Regions from separate parts of the Homo sapiens genome. Here all the other regions are linked to region 4. The links are contacts of gene promoters, found by promoter capture Hi-C in blood cells and fetal thymus (Javierre and others, 2016). All regions are on one chromosome and are shown on one strand. The core of a region is centred on a gene start or on the middle of the fragment in contact, and the rest is flanking DNA. Distances in the headings are between cores, read along the strand shown. Region 1 overlaps DERPC (DERPC proline and glycine rich nuclear protein). Region 2 holds the start of ZFP90 (ZFP90 zinc finger protein). Region 3 has its middle 20 kb from the start of ZFP90. Region 4 holds the start of TANGO6 (transport and golgi organization 6 homolog).

Region 1 (3,655 bases), core at 276-2,775, 290 kb before region 4:
GAAAACTTGATTTTATTCTGATGACCTGCTGCTTTCGTAGAATGCTTTAGTCCGTTATAAACATTAATATGCTAACACAGTGTAGTATTAAGACATTCTATTTGATGAATACTAAGAAAATGCCACCTTTCTCTGGGAAATCGATAGCTTGACCCTGAAGGCTTACCATGTGTCAGACAATGTGCTAAAAGCTTTACATTCATTACTCGTTCTTGCAACAGCCTTTCAAAATAGGTGTTTATGCCCAGTGTATTGTTAGGAAAACACGTGAGGTTAAACTACCCACTGTCACATATGGGATAGGTGGCAAAATCACAGAATCCAGGTCTGTATGACAAGTGAGTGCTTCACTATATTCGTAAACAAAGTATCCACCCTGGGATCAAAAAACAAAAGCTCAATAAATGCCAACTGTTGGCCTAGCAAAAAATAGAAAATTGTGAATATTTACACTCTGAAATAATTGATTTCACCCCAGTTTAGAAAAGAATGTTTAAGGGTTGAGAATTTAAAGGCTTGGTTTCCTGTTTGAAAAAAAAACAAAATTTCTAAAACGTTGTTTAGCTTTATTAAAATTTAGTTATTTGTATTGAGGTTAAACCGTTGAGTCAAAGCCTCTTTTTTGCTATAAGCCATATGTTCGGTTTAATTGGATACATATCACACTTTCTTCTGCCACATTTTATTTTGAAGGATTATGAGGATCATTGCTCAGGCTGTTCTGTTCTCTGTAAGACAGTAATCTTTTAACAATTTAATATTTAACAATTCAGAGACCAGAGGGTAAGAATTAAATTCTGTGGAAGATTAAAATGAATACTTGACAAAGAATGTCCTCTATTCTCTTGACTTTCACATTCAGGAGCAGAGGGTAAAGCTTTGCGTCCTAGAGGTGGCATTGAGTAGATTTTTCTAAAAGTTTCAAAAACTGAAACATCTCAATTGGGTATGATAAAAAGCAAGCTGCTTCTTTGTTTTTAGCTGCCTACCCCACAGATATAATACTTTGGTGGCAAGTTACAAGGTCTTTCCATAGGTTACTTTGCCATTTTGTAAGAGATGCTGTGAGAACGAGGCTAATATTTGTAAAGCAAGGGAAGTTATCATACAGAGGTGCTTTACAGGAGGGGGCTGTGTGAGGAGAACTGCAAGAGGGGCCAGATTGTGGAGGGGTTAGGGTTCATATCCCAGCTCTCCACTTAAGTAGCTGTGTGACCAGTTAACATTTAGCTCCTCTAAGCCTGTTTCCTCATTTGTGAAATGGGAGTGAGAAGACCTTGCTAAAAGCATAGGGTGTCAGGGTGAAATAAGAGGATACAGATAAGTGAACGAGGCTAGCTTGTGAGAAATGAAGCCTTTTGTATTATAAAAATAATGTTCTGCCTGGACTTTACTTTTCTTCCTTTTTTTTTTTTTTTTTTTTTGTGACGGAGTCTCGCTCTGTTGCCTAGGCTGGAGTGCAGTGGCGTGATGTCGGCTCACTGCAACCTCTGCCTCCTGGGTTCACGCCATTCTCCTGCCTCAGCCTCCTGAGTAGCTAGGACTACAGGCACCTGCCACCACGCCCGGCTAATTTTTTGTATTTTTACTGGAGAGGGGGTTTCACTGTGTTATCCAGGATGATCTCGATCTCCTGACCTCGTGATCTGCCCGCCTCGGCCTCCCAAAGTGCTGGGATTACAGGTGTGAGCCACCGCACCCGGCCTCTGCCTGGGCTTTTCTTAAGAAATCATGGTGGTGCTTTGATTTGCCAGTTTTTTTTTTGTTTTGTTTCAGTTTGTCTGTTTTTTGAGATGGAATCTTGCTCTGTCACCCAGGCTAGAGTGCAGTGGCACAGTCTCGGCTCACTGTAACTACCGCCTCCCAGGATCAAGCGATTTTCCTGCCTCAGCCTCCTGAGTAGCTGGGATTACAGGTGAGCGCCACCATGCCTGGCTAATTTTTGTATTTTTCGTAGAAACTGGGTTTCACCATGTTGGTCAAGCTGATTTCGAACTCATGACTTCATGATCTACCCGCCTTGGGCTCCCAAAGTGCTGGGATTATAGACGTGAGCCACCGTGCCTGGCGGGTTTTTTATAATAATAGTTACTAATTTCAAAAGAGAGAGAGAAGCCAAATGCTGGTTAAATAAGGTATATTCTAGAGTGGTCTGATTACAGCCAAAGCTTTTTAGTTTTGGGTAGGGTTCCCATTGTGGGTCAGGATTGATTCTTTGAATGCTGGTGCCTTTTTGAGGGGAAAAAAGTTTCCTTTACTGAGATAAAGTCGTTTGACTAACTTAGGAATACAGAATTTATGTATTGTTTAGTTCATTTAGCTGCGTGAAGGCCCATAAAGATCAAGTAGAAAACTTTTTTCCCTCCTCATGAGATTGGGGACAGGATACATAATTTATTGCAGGGAAAGGTTTGGTTTTCTTTATACCTTCTTATCTTTCCAAGGCTACACATGAGTTGTGGCCTGTGAGTCTGATACCACACTGTAATATAATGAATTTAAATCTTTTTGAAAAGCTACATCACAGAAGTCTCTCCCTGGCTCTGCAGTTAACCTTGTCAACCTAGAATTATTGTTCCTAACGAAAGACATGTTAGTCCTAGCCAAATCTGGGGTTGAACTCTGCTCTTAAGAGATAGTTAGCCGGGCGCTGTGGTTCACGCCTGTAATCCTGGCACTTTGGGAGGCCGAGGCGGGTGGATCATGAGGTCAGGAGTTCAAGACCAGCCTGACTAATAGGGTGAAACCCCATCTCTACTAAAAATACAAAAATCAGCAAGGCGCGGTGGCAGGTGCCTGTAATTCCAGTTACTCGGGAGGCTGAGGCAGGAGAATCCCCTGATCCTGGGCAGCGGAGGTTGCAGTGAGCCGAGATTGCGCCACTGCACTCCAGCCTGAGTGACAGAGTGAGACTCTGTCTCAAAAAAAGAAGAAAGAGAAATTTGGCCGGGCACGGTGGTTCACGCCTGTAATCCCAACACTTTGGAAGGCCAAGGTGGGCAGATCACTTGAGGTCAGGAGTTCGAGACTAGCCTGGCCAAGATGGTGAAACCCTGTCTCTACTAAAAATACAAAAAGTTGCCGGGTGTGGTGGCGGGCGCCTGTAGTCCCAGCTACTTGGGAGGCTGAGGCAGGAGAATCACTTGAACCTGGGAGACAGAGGTTGCAATGAGCTGAGATCGAGCCACTGCACTCCAGCCTGGGCAACAGAGGGAGACACTGTCTCACAAAAAAAAAAAAAAAAAAAAAAAAGTTGCCGGGAGAGCTCTTCCACTGACTCTCTTTTAGTTTCTTGACTTCATGTATAGCGTATTCATCAAATCGTGCCTTCAGATGCTCTTGATAGAGCTGCAATTTCTAAACAAGCCCCATCTTAGAACAAACAACTAGAAATTGCTCTAGTCGTCTTTCAGTGTTGCTGGAATGAATTGAGACTGAAGACTTAGACATATTCTTCTTATACAGATAATTTCCATTGTTATGCTTGTGATTTCTAATAGGGATTTATTTGTATTGTACTTCTTCCCCACCTCTTTTTTCTACTCACTCTGTCTACTCTCAAGGGGATGGGGGCACATTGGGTTGCATGTTCTCATATGCTTTTTTTTTTTTTTGAGACGGAGTTTTGCTCTTTGTTGCCCAGGCTGGAGTGTGG
Region 2 (3,538 bases), core at 228-2,727, 300 kb after region 4:
ATTCCTGGGCTTAAACGATCCTATTGCCTCAGCTTCCCAAAGTGCTGGACTTACAGGTGTGACCCACTGTACCTGGCAACTTGGTATTTTTATTTGAATTGATCTTGATGTCTCACACACCTAGCAACTACAATCTGTCATTTTCCCTTAATTCTAAAGAGAATGTAGATTCAAAGATACAGATACCATCTGGATCTTGATGTATTTTCACCAATATGTAAATCAATGGATAACCTTAGAGTTGTGACGCTTCTAGAAAATGCCCCCTCTGCCACAAGAATAAATGGGTTCACGAATCAGCCTCACATTAAGGTGAAGGCTGGACTTCTGGCGGTGGGGAGTGAGTTGCTCTATTACATTTTTGTTAAAGCAGAAAAGGACAGACACAAAAAGCTCTGGGAGAATCAGCCCTGGTTTTATTTTTGGTTGTTTTTTATTTTGTTTTGTTTTTGCCTCCTTGCCCAAGAAAGCCCATCTCCAGCCTCTTCCTAGACATGTTCTAACCAGGCTTCTACGGCCCCTTACGGACTCTCTATGGGCCCTGGGTCAGAAGCTGGGGCTCCTCTCTCCACACTTGCCGACAGTCACTTCCTCCTCTACAGTGTTCCATCCTGTGACCCCACTCTCTCCATTTCTTATTGACAAGAGTTCAAAAAACTGGCGTGGCATTCAGGACTCTCAAAACTGACACTTCCCAACGCATCCAATCTCAACTCCTCCCACAAGATCGCACCACACTGGCCCTCTCTACCCCACAGAGCAGCCTCCCCTTTGGGAATCCAGCTCCCCAAAGCCTGGGGTTTTCCATGGCCAGGAGGCTCCGATCGAGCCAAGCAAGTAAGGGAGTCGCCAGGCAGAGAACAATGACTGCTCCAAACACCCTTGGGAGATGGGATGGATAGATGGATGGGATGCCCAGGAGGTTAGGAACGCGTTGCTCACCTGGGGCGCGGCGGTCGGAGGCCTCGGGGCCATTCCTGCCTCGCCAGGGCCCGGCTCCGGGGCAGGAGCTGGGGAGAAAGGACAGGGCCCACTCACCCCGCTGCAACACCGACCCCACCCCGCCCCGCCCCGCCCCACCTCCGCCCCTAAACCACATCTCCAGGGGAGATGGTGGCGAGGACCGTGGAACCAGCCCGGGCCTGCCGCTCCCCATCCCCGAAATGAAAGGCTCAGCGGCCTCCCGGACACCCCCCTCCGGCCACGCCCAGTCCCCTTCGCAGGGTGGTGGGCGAGGCCCGGCTGACACCCGCCAAACCCAGGAGGGGTCCCGCCCAGACCCGCGCACTCAGAATCACCGCCTCTGGGGGGCTCCGGATTTCGCGACCTCCGGCCCACCCAGAGCCTCGGGCAGCTCCTCCCGCCCCCGCCGAAGCCTCGGTTATCTCCAATTCTGATCTGCGGAGGGGCTGCCCAAAGGGGCCTCAGCCGCACCGGGGTCGGACAATGGCCGCAGCGGTGGGGCAGAACTGGAAGTGCGCCTGCGCACTCGGAGCCTCGCTCCTGCAACCCCGGGTCCACGCCGGGCGCGCGAACTACACTTCCCAGAGGCCCGCGCGCGCAGGCCCCGCCTAGGCGGCTTCCGAAGGCGCGTTAGGGACCCTTGCGAGGGCCGAGGGAGGCGGCCAGTGTGGCTCGAGTGTGCGTGTCCCTGTATTCCAGTCACTGTCCGCCTCCTCTTTGCAAGGGGCTTGTTGCTAGCTGGGGAATCGGCCGGGAAAGACCCTGGTTTCGGGGAGCAATCGTACGCCCCTTTCGACGAGGCTGACGATAAAAACGCAAACATGTCAACAAGATAATGTCAGGTCCTGACTTCAGCGGTAAGAGTGACACAGGAAGGGAGTGAGACAGCGTCAGAGGGTGGGGCATTTACATCTTCTTCAAAAGGCAATTTTCCATTTCTCATTTTAGAGAAAAAAGAAACTTCGGACAAATCCGTGGCCTCCTGAGCAATGTGCAAAGGCAGATCTACTGCCGTGTTATTTCATTACTTCGTATCCCCTTACGCAGGATTTTGTTTGGGACAAGCAAACAATGATGGAAATTTTCTTTTTTTTTTTTGAGACACAGTTTCGCTCTTGTTGCCTAGGTTGGAGTGCAATGGCGCGATTTTGGCTCACCGCAGCCTCCGCCTCCTGGGTTCAAGCGATTCTCCCGCCTCAGCCTCCCGAGTAGCTGGGATTACAGGCATGCGATGCGTCACCAGGCCCGTCTAATTTTGTATATTTAGTAGAGACAGGTTTTCTCCATGTTGGTCATGCTGGTCTCGAACTCGCCTCGGCCTCCCAAAGTGCTGGGATTACAGGCATGGGCAACCGCGCCCGGCCCGATGGAAATTTTCAACACAAAGATAGGTCAACTTTTAGATACAGCTATTACGTTTATGTAATTATGTCTTATATATCACAGACATTCAGGCTACATTTCCTAGATTTCAGCTTGATTTCTTAACATTAGAGCATTGCATACCAACATGGTAGAAAATGACTGCAACGAAATGTTCCTGATGTCACACTGCTTTATCAAAAATATGAACATTCAAAAATAAATGCTTTATGCCGGGTGCGGTGGCTCAAGCCTGTGATCCCAGCACTTTGGGAGGCTGAGGCTGGCGGATCACCTGAGGTCAGGAGTTCGAGACCAGCCTGACCAACATGGAGATAGCTCGTCTCTACTAAAAATACAAAATTAGCCAGGCTTGGTGGCGCATGCCTGTAATCCCAGCTACTCAGAAAGCTGAGGCAGGAGAATCGCTTGAATCTGGGAGGCAGAGGTTGTGGTGAGCCGAGATTGCACCATTGCACTCCAACCTGGGCAACAACAGCAAAACTCCATCTCAAAAAAAACAAAACAAAAAAGGGAGAAAATTTCCATCACTGTTGGCTTGTCCCAAACACAAAATCCTGCGCAAGGGGCTAACAAGTAATGAAATAACACGTCAATAGCACAGGGAGGCTGAGGAGGGAGGAGCCCAGGAATTAAAAGACCAGCTTGGGCAACATGGCAAAACCCTGTCTCTACAAAAAATACAAACATTAACTGGTTGCAATAGTGTGCGCCTGTGGTCCCAGCTACTTGGGAGGCTGAGGTGGGAAGATCGTTTGAACCCGGGAAGCAGAGGTTGTGGTGGGCTGTGATTTCACCACAGCACTCCGACCTGGGCGACAAAGCGAGACTGTCTCAAAAAATATATATAAAAATTAATGAATGCTTTCTATCACTGCTTTGTGAATATAGTGGTCTGGAATTAGCAGAATGCATAATTCACAAGTATGAATTAGAGTGGACCGGGAGGCCTCTCTGAGGCAAGTGACTTAGTAGCTGCAACTTAAGGCAACTGCAGGCTGGGCATGGTGGCTCACGCCTGTAATCCCAGCACTTTGGGAGGCTGAGGGGGGCAGATCACTTGAGGTCAGGAGTTCGAGACCAGCCTGGCCAACATAGTAAAACCCCATCTCTACTAAACATACAAAAATTAGCAGGGTGTGGTGGCGTGCGCCTGTACTCACAGCTACTTGGGAGGCTGTAGCAGGGGAAT
Region 3 (3,529 bases), core at 464-2,963, 320 kb after region 4:
TTAGCTGGGCATGGTAGCATGAGCCTGTGGTCTCAGCTACAGGAGGAAGGCTAAGGTGAAAGGACGGCTTGAGCCCAGTAGTTCGAGGTTTGAGGCTGCAGTGAGCTATGATTGCACCACAGCACTCTAGCCTGGGCGACAGAGTGAGACCCTGTCTCAAAATAATAATAATAATAATAATGATGATGATGATAATAAAGTGAACACATTGCTTGACTGGGCTTTGCTCATTTGCTTTGCTTTCTTCCATTCTGTTCCACTTTCTCTTCGCTCTGTTTCCAGGTCTGCTGTTGTGTGATCTCCAAGTGACTTTCCCTCTCTGGGTTGCTATTTCATCTGTACAATGCAGGAGCTGTTTTGGCTGATCCAAAACACCATTTTAATTTTTCCTACCACAACTGCTAAGTCCAGTTCAACCAGTGAAGGTGTGACCTGAGCAGAGGTGAGAAAACACGAAGGTGAAAGTAAGCTGGGTCCTTCATCTCTGCCTGGACCTTGGCCTGGGCTCACGGCCTGCCTGGGGCTGATGGCCACAGACCCCCGCCCCCACCCCAGCGTCTGATACGCCGCGCCTGGGGCGATCTTGGTACCTCCCCGCCACCGCGTGGGGACAACACATTCGCAGCTCCGCGGTTACCAAGGCGACCCAGCTGGTGTATCCTCGGTAGCCCCCTAGCGGACACTTATGGAACCTGCAGTTCTTTCCTTTACCTCGGGCGGCGTATTTCACCTGCAGCCCTGTCCAGAGAGGGGGCGGCTCTCTTACCTGGCCTCTGTATTGCTTCTCTCTACCCTGAGCCTGGCCACCCGCCCCACCTCTCCAGACATTTCGGTTTCTCCTCCAGGGACCAGGCTTCTCTGGCTTTGTCACCCAGGCACAACAGCTCTAATTACCCATCCCTTCCAGCCAGGGTCCTGGGGACTTCAGAAGGGCTGTCACCCACGGCACTTCCAAAGTCCCTCTCGAGAGTGTAAAAGTCTGGCCGGGCGCGGTGGCTCACGCCTGTAATCCCAGCACTTTGGGAGGCCGAGGTGGGTGGATTATCCAGCCTGGCCACCATGGTGAAACCCCGTCTCTACTAAAAATACAAAAATTAGCCGGGCGTAGTGGTGGGCGCTGTAATACCAGTTATTTGGGAGGCTGAGGTGGGTGGATTATCCAGCCTGGCCAACATGATGAAACCCCGTCTCTACTAAAAATGCAAAAATTAGCCAGGCGTAGTGGTGGGCGCTGTAATACCAGTTACTTGGAAGGCTGAGGCAGGAGAATCGCTTGAACCTGGGAGGCGGAGGCTGCAGTGAGCCGAGATCATGCCACTGCACTCCAACCTGGGCGACAGAAAGACTCTGTCTCAAAACAAAAAAAAACAAAGAAGAGAGAGTGCAATTTATTATTATTTTTTTCTGAGACAGAGTCTCGCTCTGTCGCCCAGGCTGGAGTGCAGTGGCACTATCTTGGCTCACTGCAACTTCCGCCTCCCGGGTTCAAGTGATTCTCCTGCCTCAGCCTCCAGAGTAGCTGGGCTACAGGGGTGCACCACCAGGCCTGGCTAATTTTTGTATTTTTAGTAGAGCTGGAGTTTCACCATATTGGCCAGGCTGATCTTGAACTCCTGACCTCAAGTGATCCACCTGCCTCGGCCTCCCAAAGTGCTGGGATTACAGGCGTGAGCCACTGTGCCTGGCAATGAGTGTAAAAATCTTATGTGATGTGGAGTAAAATACCCTTCCCTCGGCCAACCCCCTGTCCACACCCCACCCCCAGCAACCCTTGACTCAGACTCTGGCTTTGGGATCCACTTTTCCTTACAGGCCTCGTGCATCTGTGTGATGGAATCCCATAGGCAGCACAGCCCGGCCGGAATCCAGGGAGCCACTAGTGCATGGGGTGGGGCAGCATCACCAGAACTGGGCATACAGCCTCTGTTGGGAGACAGGCAAGCATACAGACAAGCCAACCCAATACAGGACTGGAGGTGGGCAGTCACAAGGTTGGTGGCGCAGTGTGCTGGGAGCACCACATGGAAGGGGGAGGACCACAGCCTGAGCTGGGCAGAAAGGCTTCCTGGAGGAAGTGATGCTTGAGCCTTGAAGGATGAGTAGGCGCTGGCCTGGGGTAGAGATCTCAGTGATGGCTTGAGGGGTGGGGGAGGACTTCTCTTCAGAGTCTACCTTCCTGAGTGTCACTCCTCATCAGGGCCCCTCCTTGCCCTTTTCCTCTTCTCACCCTGTCCCCATTCCCTGGGCAACCTTCCCCAGCCCAGCAAATGTAACCAGCATCTCCTTGTTACACGTGATCCTTTTCTCCTCGTCACAGGCAGTCCCTGGATGTGCCCTGGACTTGCTTGCCTTCCTGGTGAGTTTATTCATCCTTCAAGACCCAGCTAGAAGGCTGAGCACAGTGGCTTATGCCTGTAATCCCAGCACTTTGGGAGGCTGAGGCGGGTGGATCACTTGAGGTCAGGAGTTTGAGACCAACCTGGCCAACATGGTGAAACCCCGTCTCTACCAAAAATACAAAAATTAGCCAGGTGTGGTGGCGGGTGCTCATAATCCCAGCTACTCGGGAGGCAGAGGCAGGAGAATTGCTTGAACCCAGGAGCCAAGGTTGCAGTGAGCAAGATTGCGCCATAGCACTCCAGCCTGGGCGACACAGCGAGGCTCCGTCTCAAAAAGAAAAAGACCCAGCTAGATGTTCACTCTTTCTGGCACCTTCCCAAAACCACCCTTTCAATCCTGTATTTATTCCACAAACTTCTACTGAACACCAGGTATTAGGCCCAGGATGTGGCCCTACATTGCAACTTTTTTTTTTTTTTTTTTGAGACAGGGCCTCACTCTGTCACTCAGGCTGTGGTGCAGTGGTGAAATCATAACTCACTGCAGCCTTGAATTCCTGGGCTCAACCAATCCTCCTGCCTCAGCCTCCCACGTAGCTAGGACAACAGGCGTGTCCCACTATGCCCGGTTAATTTTTGTATTTTTTATAGAGATGGGATCTTGCTTGTTGCCCAGGCTGGTCTTTAACTGGCCTCATGTCATCCTGTCACACTGGCCTCCCAAAGTGTTGGGATTACAGATATAAGACACCGCACCTGGCCCCTACATTGCAACTTTCTGTTCATCTGTCGGTCTTCCTAGCTGGCCAGGATTTCCTGTGAGCCGGGGGGAAGCTGAGTTGTATATTTTATTAATCCTCAGCCTTTAATATTCATGCCCTGAATGAATGGGTTAATGAATGAATTAATATAAGTACAGCTTCTTGCAAAAAACAAATAAGAAACACCTCAGTTCACAGGGCTGGCACTCTCTGATTTCCAGTTCTGTCCCCTGCCACTCTCTCAAAGGTATTTGGTCATATGTTATTAAATTAAAGTGAATTAAAATTTGCTTGAAATAACTACAGACTCCCCCGCTCTCCTGGGCCTGCAATGACCAGATTACATCTCCTCCAGGCACAGAAGTTTGACATTTCATTGCAAAGTCATTTTCTTCTCATTTCCTTATGTTGCTAAAATATTCTATTTCT
Region 4 (3,177 bases), core at 58-2,557:
GCCACTTACTAGTCTGACATTGGGCAATTTCCAATGTACCTGAACCTTGGTCCTTCATCCGTAAAAATTGAATACAAGTAGTACCGATCCCAGGGGATCGTAATGAGGATTAAATGATGTGTATGTCAACAGCCTACTATGGGGACTGATACTTAGTAGGCACTCATTTACTAATATTAGTAACTTGTGTTCACTTCCCGCTGGTGTGGTGTAATGTTTGCAGAAGTTTTTGCAGTTTTAAGTATAAAATCTGAGACTGGGAGGTGATCCCCTTTGGCCTTTCATGTGCCCTTGCTAATTCTACAGATCCCTTCCCATCCCTTCCCCCAAATATACACCCCAGTGATAAGCAGAGCTCTATCTTCCACGTCCTTTCCAAAAGCTCCAGATAACATCAGAGCCCCTATACTGAACAATTTGTCTGATTCTGAGAAGGGGGTTCAGTAGATCTCGGGCCTAGGTCCGTGTTCTGCCCCTAATTTGACCACGTGATCTTGGACAGGTTACTTAATTTCTTCAGTGAGCCTTGGGTGTCCTCAGTCGCAAAAGGAGTAGCAGCTTCAACCACTCCCAATATCCCTTCAGATTTTAGACTGGGAAGAAACTGTCCACGCACCACAAAGATTAAAAGCGCCTGGTAACCCCTAAATACTCTCCCCAAACCCATTTCAAACGTCACTGCTTCCGATGTCTGGACTTCTTGGCATTTCGTACAAATCTCAAGGGTCCATGCTGGCCCCTGCGCCCTCACGCGGCTAGGACCTCACATTTCTACGTCGCGGGCGCCCTACCCTCTCTGGAGCTGGGTCCATATCCCCCTCCCAAGAGCGCTGCAGTAAGCACTGAATGAAATAACGGCCCCGCCTGACAGAGCCCAGCACAAGGCAAATGCTCAAGAGATGTTGGCTAATATCAGCAGTCAACGGATCCCGCGCCCTCCTTGAGCCTCAGTTTCCTCAAGAACGTAATGAGGACGGGCATAGACAATGCTCAAAGCCCCCAGCAGCGGGCGGAGGGTCCCGAGGCGGGCCTAAGGGGCGCACGCTGCGGAAGGCAGGGCAGCCCCGGAAGCCGGGCGGCCCTGAGAGTCCCGGGTCCAGCCCGGCGCGGAGATGCGTCCTCTCACCTCCCGGGCTCAGCAGCAGCTTCAATGCCTCCAAAATCCGATCCAGACCGCATGTCTCCTGAGCCCCGCTGCCCACGGCCTGTCGGGCCGCCATGACTGGAGTGTAACACCACGCTCGCGACCCGCTCAGGCGCCTCGGCAGGGCGCCGCCGCCGCCATGTTAAGTGTGGCAGAAGGCTCTGGGCACACTATGGGGCGGGGCCAAATCGATCGGGAACGCCCCCTTCACATTTTTTTTCCGTCCCGGCTTAGTCCGGGGGGTAAGAGGGAACCCAAAAATGGCTAATCTGCCCACGCGCACAATTTCAGAAGCTCAATATGATTAACCGCTATGTAAAGAAGGAAGAGAGAAGTAATGTATCATTAAAGCTATATTTCAATATGAAAATACTCAGGTACTCAACACTGGCAGACATAATGAAGCAGACAGATGCTTCCATCTGCTTACAGTGAAGTATGGATAAGAAAAACAATATTCAGGCTGGGCGCGGTGGCTCACACCTGTAATCGCAGCACTCTGGGAGGCCGAGGCGGGCAGATCACAAGGTCAGGAGTTTGAGACCAACCTGTCCGATATGGTGAAACCCCGTCTCTACTAAACATACAAAAATTAGCCAGGCGTGGTGGCGGGCGCCTGTAGTCCCAGCTACCCGGGAGGCTGAGGCAGGAGAATCGCTCGAAGCTGGGAGGTCGAGGTTGCAGTGAGCCGAGATCACACCACTGCACTCCAGCCTGGGCGACAGAGCGAGACTCCATCTCAAAACAAACAAACAAACAAAACCTAAGTACAGACGTACACACGCATATATATCCATCGTGAATGTAAAGCTACAAATGTTGTTATGGGTAATATGATTTTTTTTTTCAGTGAACTTAGTAAAGTTCCCAGTAAAAGTTCGATCTGTGTTCTGTTTTCATGGTTGATGCATTCCTCGAAAATTCAGGGTCTATCAAAACCATGCCCTCCGCCAAACTGTTTTTATATGTAAAACAGAATGGATTTGAGATTCAGATTATCGGAAACAGGTTTTCACCTACATAAATCCTGGTGGGACGTTGAAAAACCATGTTGTCTGAAAGTCATGCCGCAGACACAGGACAATGTTTTTGAGGGCAGGACCTTTATTTTTATTTTATTTTTTGAGATGGGGTCTCGCTCTGTCGCCTAGGCTGGAGTTCAGTGGCGTGATCTCGGCTCACTGCAACCTCTGCCTCCCAGGCTGAAACAATTATCTGGCCTCAGCCCCCCGAGTAGCTGGGATTACTGGAGTGCCCCAGCATGCCCGGCTAATTTTTGTATTTTTTGTGGAGACAAGGTTTCGCCCTCTTGGCTAGGCTGGTCTTGAGCTCCTCACCTCAAGTGACCTGCCCACCTGGGCCTCCCAAAGTGCTGGGATTACAGGCGTGAGCCACTGCGCCCGGCCCAAAGGACAAACTTCTTAATGGTCCGGTCCTTGGGCGAGAATAAGCTGCGCATAGCTATTACCCTTTTTGGCATGACTCTTGTTTCTTCTTTTCTTTGTCATTTTGGAATGCAGGGCCTGAGAGGGAAAAACGCTAAAAATTTTTTTTTAGAGATGGAGTCTCTATGTTGCCCAGACTTGTCTCAAACTCCTGGCCTCAAGTGATCCTCCTGCCTCAGCCTTCCGAATAAAATCTTGTGTGTGTGTGTGAGACAGAATCTCACTGTCACCCGGGCTGAAGTGCAGTGGTGTGATCTTGGCTCACTCCAACTTCTGCCTCCCCTGCTCAAGTGATCCTCCCGCCTCAGCCTCCCAAGTAGCTGGGACTACAGATGCATGCCACCACACCCGGCTAATTTTTGTAGAGATGGCGTTTCACCATGTCACCCAGGCTGGTCTCAAACTCCTGGGCTCAAGCAATTTGCCCATTTCGACCTTCCAAAATACTGAAATTGCAGGCGTGAGCCACCGGTTCTGGCCTTAAAAATATTTTTGAATGGGAAATAAATCACCTACAAAATTGCCACTGTGCTCTTTTTATTTTGTGTATTCCTTTCCAGGTTTTGTCATTAGACAATGTTTTCTCCA

What was found. The method cuts DNA at HindIII sites, captures the fragments that hold promoters and counts their contacts. A CHiCAGO score of 5 or more calls a contact.
Region 1: a contact is called between a fragment that was not itself captured here and the fragment with the promoter of TANGO6 in region 4, in 5 of 17 cell types (megakaryocytes, activated CD4 T cells, endothelial precursors and 2 more). The highest score is 6.5, in megakaryocytes.
Region 2: the fragment with the promoter of ZFP90 here is called in contact with the fragment with the promoter of TANGO6 in region 4 in 8 of 17 cell types (non-activated CD4 T cells, erythroblasts, M1 macrophages and 5 more); the score reaches 9.8 in non-activated CD4 T cells.
Region 3: a fragment that was not itself captured here is called in contact with the fragment with the promoter of TANGO6 in region 4 in 10 of 17 cell types (megakaryocytes, naive B cells, erythroblasts and 7 more); the score reaches 7.6 in megakaryocytes.

What each region holds. Positions count from the first base shown.
Region 1 is chr16:69,127,199-69,130,853 of GRCh38, reverse strand. The region is part of intron 1 of DERPC (DERPC proline and glycine rich nuclear protein); the gene reads left to right. All of the region lies in intron 1 of CHTF8 (chromosome transmission fidelity factor 8), which reads left to right. Among named protein-coding and RNA genes, the nearest start is that of CHTF8, 3.6 kb to the left of the region's middle. The HindIII fragment of the contact is 1,291 bases long and covers 880-2,170 here.
Region 2 is chr16:68,537,230-68,540,767 of GRCh38, reverse strand. It overlaps ZFP90 (ZFP90 zinc finger protein), which reads right to left and starts at 1,477. Exons shown (of 5, transcript NM_001305203.2): 1 at 1,289-1,477; 2 at 943-1,010. The coding sequence starts at 975. The HindIII fragment of the contact is 12,761 bases long and covers 1-3,538 here.
Region 3 is chr16:68,517,937-68,521,465 of GRCh38, reverse strand. No RefSeq gene overlaps it. Among named protein-coding and RNA genes, the nearest start is that of ZFP90, 20 kb to the left of the region's middle. RefSeq lists enhancers at 352-401, 442-491, 512-591. The HindIII fragment of the contact is 3,788 bases long and covers 1-3,529 here.
Region 4 is chr16:68,841,661-68,844,837 of GRCh38, reverse strand. TANGO6 (transport and golgi organization 6 homolog) reads right to left here and starts at 1,307. Exons shown (of 18, transcript NM_024562.2): 1 at 1,127-1,307. The coding sequence starts at 1,220. RefSeq lists an enhancer at 1,067-1,336. The HindIII fragment of the contact is 15,665 bases long and covers 1-3,177 here.